Regions from separate parts of the Homo sapiens genome. Here regions 2 and 3 are each linked to region 1. The links are contacts of gene promoters, found by promoter capture Hi-C in human tissues and cell types (Jung and others, 2019). All regions are on one chromosome and are shown on one strand. The core of a region is centred on a gene start or on the middle of the fragment in contact, and the rest is flanking DNA. Distances in the headings are between cores, read along the strand shown. Region 1 holds the start of NRSN2 (neurensin 2). Region 2 holds the start of RBCK1 (RANBP2-type and C3HC4-type zinc finger containing 1). Region 3 holds the start of TRIB3 (tribbles pseudokinase 3).

Region 1 (4,125 bases), core at 1,626-4,125:
GAGGCATACTATCAAGACTTTTCAGAACACTGCATCCTTCTTCACTTGAAGTGTGATTAATATAAATAATTATAGACTAATTTCTTCTTTCTAATGGATGCATAGTATTCCACAAAGACATATAATGTACATAACTCGTCTTCCATTGATGGATATTTAAGTGGTGTCCCAGTTATCTGTTAGCACAGAACAAAACCCCCCAAACCTAGTGGTATAACACAATAACCACTTGAATATGCTTGTGGGTTCTGTGTGTCAGGAATTCAGGCAGGACACAGTGAGGCCAGCTTGTTTCTACTCTGCAATGTTTGAGTCTTCAGCTAGGAAGATTTGAAGATTTGAAGGCTGAAGCTGATTCAAATGGCTGGCCACTGGAATCATCTTGTTCTTCCCCTTCCCCTTCGCCTTCTACAGTGCAATGGCATGATGTCGGCTCACTGCAACCTCTGCCTCCCGGGTTCAAGCAATTCTCCTGCCTCATCCTCCCTAGTAGCTGGGATTACAGGTGCACGCCACCATGCCCGGCTATTTTTGTATTTTTAGTAGAGACGGGGTTTTGCCATGTGGCCAGGCTGGTCTCGAACTCCTGAACTCAGGGTATCCACCCGCCTTGGCCTCCCAAAGTGCTGGGATTACAGGTGTGAGCCACCGTGCCTGGCCTCATCTGGTTCTTCTTCACTCACTTCTTTTATGCTTGAACTGGGATGACTCAAAGCTAAGCTTAGCTGGGACTGTGGTGCCTTCATGTGTCCTCTCCTGATGGTCTTGGCATCCTGACAGCATGGCAGCCTCTAAGCAGACATGGAGCCCTAGGTAGGCATGGTGCCTCAGGCTCCAAGAGCTAGAGTTCTAGCAGAAGTTGCCTGTACTTTTATGTCTGGACCTTAGAAGTCAGAGTGTTACTTCCACCGTACTCCATTGGTTGAAGCAGTCATCAGCTCACCCAAGATTCAGAGAGGGTACAAGGATCCCACCTCTCTACAGAGGAGTGCTAAAGAATTTGTAGCTATATTTTAAAACCACCACAGGTTGTTTCCAATCTGTAGCTATTCCTGTAGTTCATTTTACAGGCTAACATCTCTTGAATGTCTTCATTTCTCTGCACCAGGCCAAGACACTGTCATCTCTGATCTCTTTGCTGATCTCTTGCTGTCACTCTTGTGCTCAACATGCTGTTCTCTTGACAGCAGCCAGAGGTCTTTTCAGAATGAAAATCAGATCACATCCCACCCCTCTTCATAACCCTTCCATGGCTCCCCACTACCCTTGGGCTGAAGCTCAAACTCCTTACCTTGGCTTATGAGGCCCCACAAGGTCTCACTTCTGCCTGCCTCTCCAATGCCATCTCCTGTCACCATTTGGGGCCTTTAGTTTTGAGCTGCAAGAGTTCCTCCCATCACACACACACACATACACACACACACACACACTTAAATGAGTAAGTAAATAGAACATACAAAACGCTTAAACACTTTGCACATAGTGAGCATAATAAGTTTGCTACTATTATTAGACTGTCTTCAGTAAATATTTACTGGGCTGCCTACTCAGTGCCAAGCACTATGGGAGGCTCACAGATACAACACGAACAAGAAATATGTGGCCTTGGCCAGACGCGGTGGCTCACGCTTACAATCCCAGCACTTTGGGAGGCCGAGGCAGGTGGATCACTTGAGCTCAGGAGTTCAAGACCAGCCTGGGCATCATGGCAAAACCCTGTCTCTATTAAAAATACAAAAAATTAGCTAGGCATGGTAGTGCGTGCCTGTAGTCCCAGCTCCTCAGGCGACTGAGGTGGGAGGATCACCTGAGCCTTGGGAGATCGAGGCTGCAGTGAGCCGTGATCATGCCACCGCACTCCAGCCTGGACAACAGAGTGAGACGCTGTCTCAAAAAAATAAAAATTAAAAAAAAAGAAAAAGAAAAACTAAAAAGGAAGATGTGGCCCTATCTTGCCGAGCTCATTCTTCTGTGTGTCCCCAGCCCCTAGCACAAGGAGAAACAGAATAGATGCTCAAGACACAAAGGCATGTCTGTGCAAGGGTGCTTGATGACGGTTGGAGGGGCACAATGACTTTCCCAAGATCACACAGCAAATGTGGGACAAAATCAAGGCTGACAGCTCATGACAGGGTGGGAGGCAGATGCAGCTGCCTGGCACAGGCTGGCTCTCCAGGGAGATGGGCAGTGGGCACGCATTGCCCAGGGCAGAACTGGGGCTAGGGGAGGAAACAACAAGGGAGGCTGTCATTAGCTCCTTCCAAAGTGGAGGTCACTTCTCTCCCAACCCCGAGTCCTCCACCCAAACTCCCTTCTCAAGGTACAAGGGCTGATCCCGTACCAGGGATGGGTAGGGACTCAAAGAGGAAAAGAGGATGAAAAGAGGATGGGGACTGAGTGAGATGTGAGGACTCCAGAGGGATTAGCGGCTCTCAAGGCAAGTGGGAGGGGACTTCCCGGTAGGAGCCCGGAGACAGATGGGAGCCTGTGAAGAGGGCGGGGGCCCGGCGAGGAGAAGCGGTTTCTACGCTGGGGTGGGGCTCCATGAGGGGGATGGAGACCTGGAAAAGGGACTGACGGTGCAGCGAGGAGAGGAAGGCTCGGTTAAGGGATGGGTCTTCCACGGGAGGGGTGGGGAACTGCGGGAGTGACGGCAGCTTCGGTGAGGAGTCTGAGGGGCTGCGTGAGGGGCTGGGGCCCAGGGAGTCCGAGGGGTCTCTGTGAGGGCGCTGGGGTGTCCGAGCGAGCAGGGAACTCTGGAAGGGGACAGGAGCCGGGGGAGCTGCAGGCGGCCGCCGTCTGCAGAGCCAGGCCCTGAGGCGGGCCGGCGCCCCCTCCCCCGCCCCGAACTGCGGCGCAGGCGCGAACCGGACCCGCCTTTGCTCGGCGGAGACAGCAGGCAGAGAGGTGAGCTTAGCCCTGCCCCACGCGCGGCCAGGCCCCAGCCCCAGCCCCTGGAGAACCCCCGCGCTCTGCCCGCATCCTCAGCCCGGGCCGTGTCCCGCCAGGGCCGGGACCTTTGCGCCTGAGCCTCGGCTTTGGGAGGTGGGGGTCCCAGGGAAGCAGCAGGGGCGGGAGACAGAAACAGCCCCATCGCCCCTCGACGCCTCAGGGTTGATAGGCTGGGTAGAGGCTTCAAAGGACACCCCCACCCCCGCCAACACTTCAAAAACCCATTCCTACCCCTCTCTGCCTCAGTTTCTCTCTAGGGAAAAGGACGCAGTTGGTGTGGAGCAGGGCATCGGTGGTCCTGTCAGGAAGAGTGGCGCGGGTGCCGGTGGGGAAGGGAGGCGGGAAATGGCCTGATTTCCCCGGCCGACACCCCCTACCCATCCCCCCCGGGAGGGCGCCCCTTCTCCCCCGCCCGGGCAGCGCTGGACGCTGTAGTGGGCGAGTCTGAGGGTCTGGGAAGGACACAACTGAATGAGGCTGTGCAGAGGCGACAGATTCCGTCCATCTTCGGGCCCTGGCTTCCGTCACTTCCGCCCGTGCCTGCCGCCCCTCGCCTCCTCCCTCCGCCGCAGTCTCCCCACGTCGGACAGCGCAGCCCCCTCCGCCTCCCGCTCCCCTCCCACCGAGCTCCTCCCGGCTCCCGGGCTGGGGACGCCTCCCTAGCGGTTCCCATGGCAACCCTCGTCCCGGGTGCCTGCGCCCCGCCCCCCGCCCGCCAGACCTACTCCGTGCAGCCCTGAAACGCCAGGCGGAGGGGCCAGGCCGAGCGGGAGGCAGCGTCAAGGTCACCTTCCCTCTCCAGTAGCAGCAGGACTGAGTGATTCCATCTATTTGGAGTCGCGGAAGCGGTGAATTGGAGGGGAGGAGCTGACCCAGGTCAACAGCCCCGAAGCCCCCTCCACACCTCCTCACCTGTGGCCTTGAACAGTGGTCTCCGCACGGAGGCTCCTACCGTCCCCCAGGCCCCATTTCTTCTCCCCACCCGGGCCTCCCCAGCGCCTCGCCGGGGCGGGTACCGCGCTGGCCGCACCCTCCGCACAGCCCGCCCCGCCCGCCTCCTCCGGCGAGCCCTCCTCTCCAGACCTCTCGCCCTCCTCCTCCGACGGTCCTTCGCTTTCAGTCTCTGCCTTTTCCCGTTCTCTGTCGTGGCTTTTGTTGTTGTTGTTTTTCCTC
Region 2 (4,125 bases), core at 1,041-3,540, 61 kb after region 1:
CTCAGCTCACTGCAACCTCTGCCTCCCAGGTTCAAGCCATTCTCATGCCTCAGGCTCTGCAGTAGCTAGGATTACAGATGTCCGCCACCACACCTGGCTAATTTTTGTATTTTTAGTAGAGACAGGGTTTCACCATGTTGGCCAGGCTGGTCTCGAACTCCTGACCTCAAGTGATCCGCCCACCTCGGCCTCTCAAAGTGCTGGGATTGTAGGTGTGAGCCACCATGCTCAGCCAAAAATGTCCTAAAATTTGATTGTGATGATGGGTGTACAATTCTGTAAATGTTACTAAAAACTATTGAATTGTATATTTTAGGTGGGTGGATTTTATGGCATATAAATTATATCTCAATAAAGCTGTTTATAAAAAGAACAGCAGTTAGATTGACAGGTGATGATATCTCAATAAAGCTGTTTATAAAAAGAACAGCAGTTAGATTGACAGGTGATGATATCTCAACAGCAACCATTTCCCAGCATTTTGGGAGGCCGAGGTGGGCAGATCATTTGAGCCCAGGAGTTCAAGACCAGCCTGGGCAACATGACCAAACCCTGTCTCTACAAAAATTAGCCAGCTGTGGTGGCACGTGCCCGTGGTTTGCAGCTACTCGGGAAGCTGAGCCCAGGAGTTGGAGGCTGTAGTGAGCCATGATCACGCCACTGCACTCCAGCCTGGGCAACAAGAGTGAAACTCCATCTCAAAAAAAAAAAAAAAAAAAAAAAAGGCTTCCCCAGGCCATTCAAATGTACAGCCAAAGTTAAGAAACATTGTCTAAAGGGATGTGTTTCCGGCAAAAGAAAAATTATCCCAGATGAAGGTCTGAGGTTCATTCCTTCATTCAACATATGGAGCCTCCATTATGTGTTTGGAACTGTTCTAGACACCAGGAACACAGCAGTGAGCAAAACAAACCAAAGTCCCTGCCCTCTAGGAGAGGAAAACAGACCCAGAATAACATAAATAAGTAAAACATGCTCCGTTAGACAGTAATAGATGCTGAGAAGAAAAAATGAAGCCAGGAAAGCGGATGTGAAATGCTGGATACGTGTGTCTGTGAAATTTCAGATGGAGTAACTAGGGAAGATTTTTGGGTAAAGACCAAAATAAAGGGAAGGAGGGAGCCATGCAGACGTTTGGGTTATGGCAGGTGCAAAGGCCTTAGGGCGGGAGTGTGTCTGACTTACTCCAGGACCCAGCAGGTCAATGGGACTTGAGTGGAATGAGGCAGGGGCAGGGCAGTCAGCTACGAAGACAGAGATCGGGAGGCAATTTGCGAGCCCTGGGACAGATCTCGGATTTTGCTTTAAGTGAGATGGGAGTACTTGGGTCGGGGAGTGGCATGGGTTTGATTTACATTTTAACAGGACTCTCCGGCAGCTAGGTGGAAATGGACGGTAGGGGGCAAAAAGAGAAGCAAGGAGGCCCAGGAGGAGGCTGGTTCAAGACCCCTGAGATGATGGAGCACTGATGGAGCTGGAGCGGGATGGGGCCGGAGGAGGTGAGGGATGAGATTCTGCAAGTGGAGCCCGCAGGATCTGCTGATCGATGGGACGAGGAACGGGAGAAAAATTAAAGCGGCGCATGAGGCAGACGAATGCAAACTTCACCAATAGCTCAACGAAAAGACAGACGGTGACCGCTGAGAGGCAGCGTCGGATCTGGGTAAGGGCGGGTTCCTGAGCCTGCCAGGCCTGGATTCAAACCTCGGCTGAGTGGCCTTGGACAGGTCATCAACAAACAGAGCCTTCGTTTATTCATGTGCAAACGGGGCCAAGGACCGGGCCTGCCCCGAGGTATGCCTGAGGCTTGGGTGAGCAGGCGCCGGGCTCGCAGGGCGCGCTCCTAACCCGTCCCCAGCGGCTCGACGCTGTGGATCCCGCCGCCCTCCAGCCCCGGCTCCGGCGCCGACTCCTGCTCAGGCTCCTGCTCCTGCCCCCGGCCCCGCCCCCGGCCCCGGCCCCGGCCCCCGGCCCACCCCGGCCCCGCCCCCAGCCCCCGGCCCCCCCGGCCCCGCCCCCGGCCCCGCCCCGGCCCCGCCCACCCCGCCTGCGGCCCAGCTCCTTCCCGCGGCTCTGCGATGCGGCCCGCAGGGTGACCCGGGCGGGAGTCCGGGGACCCGCGATCAGCCCCGGAGGACGGGGTGGGGTCGCCCCAAACAGGAGCGCCGGGACCGCTGGGACCCCGCACTCGGCGTCCGCCGCCGCCGGGTAGCCGGGCAGTGGAGGTCCCGGATGAGGCGACAATTTTTCCGGCCCCCCCTCCCAGTCCCGCCCCACTTCCGGGGCCGCCACTTTCACTTTCTCTTCCGCCGAAGCCGCTCCCCTTGCGAAGAACTGGGGCCTCCCGGGAGGAGAGAGGGCTTTGCCTTGAAACCCGGGACGCCAGGGGCGCTCCCGCAAGTGGGGGTCCTCCGGGACTTGGAACGCCCCGGCTGGGTGGTGTCCGGGCGTCCTTTCCCCGCTTCTTCCCACCTCGGCTGGTCCCGTTTCCTCCTGCGCCCAGTGCGGACCTGTCTCGGCGCCCGCTGCCCTCTCACCGCCCCACGCAGGATCCCGGCCTGGTCACCGGGCAGTGTGATGCTTCCCGACTGCCGCGGGGACAGCGAGGCACACACAGGGCTTGGGCCGCGCCGGAGGCCACACGGCCTGGCTGAGTTGCTCCTGGTCTCCCGCCTCTCCCAGGCGACCCGGAGGTAGCATTTCCCAGGAGGCACGGTCCCCCCCAGGGGGATGGGCACAGCCACGCCAGATGGACGAGAAGACCAAGAAAGGTGGGCACAGGCTGGAGGTGGCTGGGGAACTTCCGGTGGGAAGTGGGCCCCGCAGGACCTGGCCTTGCCCCTGGCCAGAAGGGCCTTGGAGAGGGGGCTTTAGCCTGCCCTCCCTCTACCCTCCTCCCCATCAGTTTCCTCCTTTGGTACCTGCTGGCTTCCAGAGCCATCTTGGGGCCCTGAGAACTCCTTGGGCTGGCTCTGTGCTGAGATGGGGCTAGGGGACTCGCAGAGGACACAGGGCATTGAACTTGGAGACCTCCTGGGCTGGTGGGAGACAGACGTCAGTTGACCTGAGAAGCAGGGGTACTTGCCTCTTCTCTTGTCCCCTGCACCTAGGGTTGTAGAACGGAAGTCAGTCACTGCCTTGCTGGAAACCCTCCCATGCCCCTCTGTGTTCTCCAAACAAAACCCAGAGGCCCTGGGTGGCCCACAGGATATCTGTCCTCAGTCACCCCGCCATGCTCACTCTACTGGAGCCCCACTGGCTTCCTTCGGTTCTCATCCAACCATTTTTTGGCCAAGGCCCTTACTCTTCCTTCCACCTGGACCACTCTTCCCCACTGGAGCTTGACACGTGCAGCTTCTCCTCCTTCAGGTCTTAGCTTCAGTGTTACCCCCTCCCAGAGGCCTCCCCTGGTCTCCTTAACCTGTTTATTTCCCTGCCAGCAAGGATCGCAATCTGACTTTTTTTTTTTTTCTTGTTAAACTTGTTCATTGTCTCCCCACTGGGCAGGGAGATCCATAAGGAGAGGGGCCCTGTTTATAAATCTCTGTGGGATTCCAGTTCCTGGGACAGTGGGTGGCACACAGTAGAAGCTCAATAACTGCTTGTTGGATAAATGAATAGAAATATGAGGGACCCTGGGAATGGGAAGGACAAACAACCAAATGAGCCTAGTGTGAGGAGGAGTGGGGAATATTAGAGAACCCCTCCCGGAGAAAGGGACTTTTAGTCTGGGTGCTGAAGGATACGTAGGAGTTCACCAGGAAGACAGAGAAAGCAGCACACACAAAGGATCGCCTCCTTTCCTACCCCATTACTCTCAGCTCCTGAAAATAAACCCTGTGCTAACTGGCTCCTGCTGTACTGGCTTTCAGCAGAGGAAATGGCCCTGAGCCTCACCCGAGCAGTGGCGGGCGGGGATGAACAGGTGGCAATGAAGTGTGCCATCTGGCTGGCAGAGCAACGGGTGCCCCTGAGTGTGCAACTGAAGCCTGAGGTCTCCCCAACGCAGGACATCAGGTGAGGAGTGCATGGCTGGCCTGAACCCAAGGGACAGCAGGACAGGATATTCTTGCCTGTAGAACAGTTCTTCCTAATGGCACGTTCTGGCTTCAGGAGGCCTGGCTT
Region 3 (4,125 bases), core at 545-3,044, 34 kb after region 1:
AGTGCTGGGATTACAGGCATAAGCCACCACGCCCAGCCTCTAGAGGAGTTATTTTACTTACTTACTTATTTATTTATTACACAGGATCTCACTCTGTCACCCAACCTGGAGTGCAGTGGCACAATCACGTTTCACTGTAACCTGAACTCCTGGGCTCAAGTGATCCTCCTACCTCAGCTTCCTAAGTAGCTGGGACCACAAGCTCGTACCACCATGCCCGCTATCTTTTTCTCTTTGTAAAGACAGGGTCTTACTATGTCATCCAGGCTGTTCTCAAACTCCTGGCCTCAAGCAATCCTCCCGTCTTGGCCTCCCAAAGTGCTAGGATTACAGACATGAGCCAGCTCACCCAGCTGAGGAGTTATTTTTTGACACTGGTGAATTCAGATCAAAAGGGATTTCTAAGAAAGGTGCTGGACCCAGGCCGGGCGCGGTGGCTCATGCCTGTAATCTCAGCACTTTGGGAGGCCGAGGCAGGTGGATTATCTGAGGTCAGGAGTTCGAGACCAGCCTGACCAACATGGAGAAACCCTGTCTCTACTAAAAATACAAAATTAGCCAGGCATAGTAGCGCATGCCTGTAATCCCAGCTACTTGGGAGGCTGAGGCAGGAGAATCGCTTGAACCCGGGAGGTGGAGGTTGCAGTGAGCCGAGATCGTGCCATCGCACTCAATCCTGGGCAACGAGTGAAACTCTGCCTCAAAAAAAGAAAAAAAAAGAAAGGTGCTGGACGCCTAGGACGCAGAGGGGTGTTTCACCCCAAATCAAGTAGCACCAAGCCCTCCCAGGCCTTGGGTGCAAGCATATTAAAGGCCTCTTTCCCTCTCTGTCTCCATTGTTTACACTCCACTGAGCATCCGCAATGTGCCACACACTGTTCTAAGCGTCTTACACATATTAAATTATTTAATCCTCACAACAACTTTATGAAGTGAGCGCAATTATGAGCCCATTTTATGGAGCAGGAAGTTGAGGCAGGGTTTTAGGTAGCTTTTCTGGGGTAGCACTGTGGGTTGGAGCGGAGGTGGAGTGCACTCTTAGGCCAGCTGGCTCTAGGGGCTCTTCACCACTAGGCCGCACTGCCTCTAGCAAAGGGACGCGGGGAAGCTCAGCAGACCTTAGGCCTCCCAAGGGCGCCACGGTGGTTCCTTTGAGCCCAGAGTCAGCTCTTAAGTCCATAGGCCTTCCTGAAGCTTCTGAACCACTTGCCCATAGCTGGGCCTCAGGCTGGCTCTCAGTAGAATGTGGAGAATGGAGATTCCCGCATGTCCACTTCTCCTAAAGGTTTTATAAGGCAGTGCTGGGAATGTGCTTTATAAAAAAGGGGAAGCACCCCGACAACAGTCACTGTTTGCTCTTTTAAGCACCATCCTGAGAAGGAGGAATGTTCTTCCCATTTCATAGGTGGGGAAACCGAGGCTCAGAAGAGCAAATTTTTGGCCGGGCGCGGTGGCTCACGCCTGTAATCCCAGCACTTTGGGAGGCCGAGGCGGGTGGATCACGAGGTCAGGAGATCGAGACCATCCTGGCTAACAAGGTGAAACCCCGTCTCTACTAAAAATACAAAAAATTAGCCGGGCGTGGTGCGGGCGCCTGTAGTCCCAGCTACTCGGGAGGCTGAGGCAGGAGAATGGCGTGAACCCGGGAGGCGGAGCTTGCAGTGAGCCGAGATCGCGCCACCGCCCTCCAGCCTGGGCGACAGAGCAAGACTCTGTCTCAAAAAAAAAAAAAAAAAGAGCAAATTTTTTTTCCAAGGTGATAGGGAGAGTCCGTGGCTGATGTCTGCACTGACCAGACGCCCCTAGGGGGCCAGCGAGGGCGGGTCCCAGGTGCAGCGGATGCAGAGGAGAGAGGCCCGGGCGCGGCGCGGGGGATGGTGCGATCCCGGGCCCGAGGGCATCAGACGGCGGCTGATTAGCTCCGGTTTGCATCACCCGGACCGGGGGATTAGCTCCGGTTTGCATCACCCGGACCGGGGGATTAGCTCCGGTTTGCATCACCCGGACCGGGGGCCGGGCGCGCACGAGACTCGCAGCGGAAGTGGAGGCGGCTCCGCGCGCGTCCGCTGCTAGGACCCGGGCAGGGCTGGAGCTGGGCTGGGATCCCGAGCTCGGCAGCAGCGCAGCGGGCCGGCCCACCTGCTGGTGCCCTGGAGGCTCTGAGCCCCGGCGGCGCCCGGGCCCACGCGGAACGACGGGGCGAGGTACTCGGCGGGGTGCGGCCTGCGGACTCGCCCGGAGGCCGGGGGGCGGGAGGGGGCGGCCGGGGAAGGGGGCGCCGGAAGCCTCTGGGCGTCTGCGTGTTGCCGCGTGTTACACGCACGCACGCCCCTTACACACCTTTTCACAGACCCCGCCGTCGGGGCGCGGCCAGGTCAGATCCCTTTTGATCCGGGCCTGGGCTGAGTGCTCCCCCCGGGCTTCAGGTGACGCGGCCCCGCGGAGCGTGGGGTCGCCCGAGTTGGGCTGGGGAAGCCAGGGACGGAGGTGTCCGGCCGTCACCCCTAGAGGAGGGCGTGCGGGGGTCTGTTTTGCGTGAGTGCGGGATAGGGGAGTCGTGTGGTGCGGTGAGGGGCTTGTGGGGGGCACTGGAGGACTCTGGGGGTGGCGGGGGATCCGAGGGGGTCCTCGTGAACCCGCAGGGGAGAGTCCTGGGTGAGGGTGGGTCCCGAGCACCTGTGTCTCAGGAGATGGTGAGAGCTGTCTGGAGGGCTGGGCACTTGGTGGCAGGGGTTGGCGGTGCAGGGGACACCGCCGGGACAGGGCTGGGGTGCCCTGGAGCGGGGGAGCCGAGGGAGTGGGAGCGGGGGCGCAGCGCGCGATCTCTGGCCCGGCAGGGCCGCTGGTTCTCCCCAGTGCGCGGCTCCGGGTTTGCAGGTGGACGGTGCGCGCGTGTCTGCGGTGTGTGCTGTGCCTGCAGACCGGGGAGGGCGGGGGACGACAGCCACCTCCTTCCCTCTGCCTCACCCCCCTCCTGTCCCAGGGCCGCGCTTCAATTTCCGCTGAAACTTCTGACTCGGACACCCGCCGCCTTTCGCTTGGGCTCCCACGGGAGGGGCCTGGCTGCGGGGGGCGGGGCGGGGTGGGGGTGCGGCCTTGCTCGGGTAGACCATGGGTGTGACAGCTGGGAGGGCTGTGTGTGTGTGTGTGTGTGTGTGTGTGCGTGCGCGCGCGCGCTTGCGCTTGATGTAACCCGCCCTCATTTCCCTGGGTCCCGAGTGTGGCAGGGAACAGCAAGAGGTAGATATTAGGGGCTGCTTTCATTCCACATCACAGATTCTATTCTGCAGTGTGGTCTGCAAAATGCCTTGCCCAAGATGTATAGACTCAGTTACCGCATCTGTCCCCATCTGGGTGGAGCTTATCCCAGGCCCCAACAGGCTCTGAGGGATGGCCGGGGCCAAGGCAGCCTGGACTACTGATGTGGCACAGGCCAGAGGGACTCCAGGCAGTCTCCTGCTGCACAGGGCACAAAGCATGTGCACAGCCAGGTATCATCCTGCGTGACTCAGAACAGCCTTGAGATGTAAGGAGTGTCATCCCAGCCTCGAACCTGGGGAGCTTTCTAAGACTCCCAAGGATGGTACTTATGCATCTTGCTGTGAAGAATAACAGGATGAGTGCTAATAATGACCATTTCCTGACACCTACCTGGCAACAGGTCCATAAGCTCTACATGCTTCATTTGTGTTTTCATTTCATCATCACGAAAAACCTGTAAGCTTTGCATCCTGTTCCCACTTTACAGGAACTGAGGCTCAGAAAGCTTGAGGAACTTGACCAGGGGTACCCCCCAGCTAGAAAGGGTTTGAGACAGGATTAGAACCCAGGAATATCTGACTACAGCCACTCCTTACTGCATTCTTACCAAGCCAAAGTCATGACCTTTCACTCATGTGGGGAGGCCTTCCCTTCCAAGGCAGCTCTTCCATTTGGGAGCAGCGTACTTGGAGAGGTGGGCCTCTGTCTGGTAACTGACTCATGTTGCCTTGTTAATCCTGCCTTGAACTGTTGGGAAGGTCTTTAACCAGGCTGAGGTCTCTCGCACCAATGCCCATACCTGGGCATGCACCTCCTTGGAATGGAGTTTAAGTGGGTGGGCAGATGGGTTCTAGAGAGAACCCG

The links. The method cuts DNA at HindIII sites, captures the fragments that hold promoters and counts their contacts. A contact is called where the count stands out against the background at its distance.
Region 2: a contact is called between the fragment with the promoter of RBCK1 here and the fragment with the promoter of NRSN2 in region 1, in 9 of the 25 tissues and cell types used here (H1 embryonic stem cells, IMR-90 fibroblasts, heart left ventricle and 6 more).
Region 3: the fragment with the promoter of TRIB3 here is called in contact with the fragment with the promoter of NRSN2 in region 1 in 6 of the 25 tissues and cell types used here (IMR-90 fibroblasts, adrenal gland, lymphoblastoid cells and 3 more).

What each region holds. Positions count from the first base shown.
Region 1 is chr20:344,236-348,360 of GRCh38, forward strand. It overlaps NRSN2 (neurensin 2), which reads left to right and starts at 2,876. Exons shown (of 5, transcript NM_001323682.2): 1 at 2,876-2,907; 2 at 3,199-3,277. LOC101929937 (serine/arginine repetitive matrix protein 2-like) reads right to left here. Exons shown (of 4, transcript XM_047440635.1): 2 at 3,865-4,125; 3 at 3,184-3,779; 4 at 2,031-2,756. The coding sequence ends at 2,433. RefSeq lists enhancers at 1,648-2,411, 2,412-3,174, 3,175-3,937 and silencers at 2,744-3,163, 3,184-3,713, 3,894-3,983. The HindIII fragment of the contact is 22,559 bases long and covers 1-4,125 here.
Region 2 is chr20:406,009-410,133 of GRCh38, forward strand. RBCK1 (RANBP2-type and C3HC4-type zinc finger containing 1) reads left to right here and starts at 2,291. Exons shown (of 12, transcript NM_031229.4): 1 at 2,291-2,771; 2 at 3,873-4,017. The coding sequence starts at 2,750. RefSeq lists silencers at 9-165, 1,989-2,258 and enhancers at 2,236-2,878, 2,829-2,878, 2,879-3,519, 2,929-3,028, 3,089-3,188 and 1 more. The HindIII fragment of the contact is 18,382 bases long and covers 1-4,125 here.
Region 3 is chr20:378,966-383,090 of GRCh38, forward strand. TRIB3 (tribbles pseudokinase 3) reads left to right here and starts at 1,795. Exons shown (of 4, transcript NM_021158.5): 1 at 1,795-2,204. RefSeq lists silencers at 2,079-2,238, 2,259-2,368, 2,639-3,228 and an enhancer at 2,914-3,912. The HindIII fragment of the contact is 14,566 bases long and covers 1-4,125 here.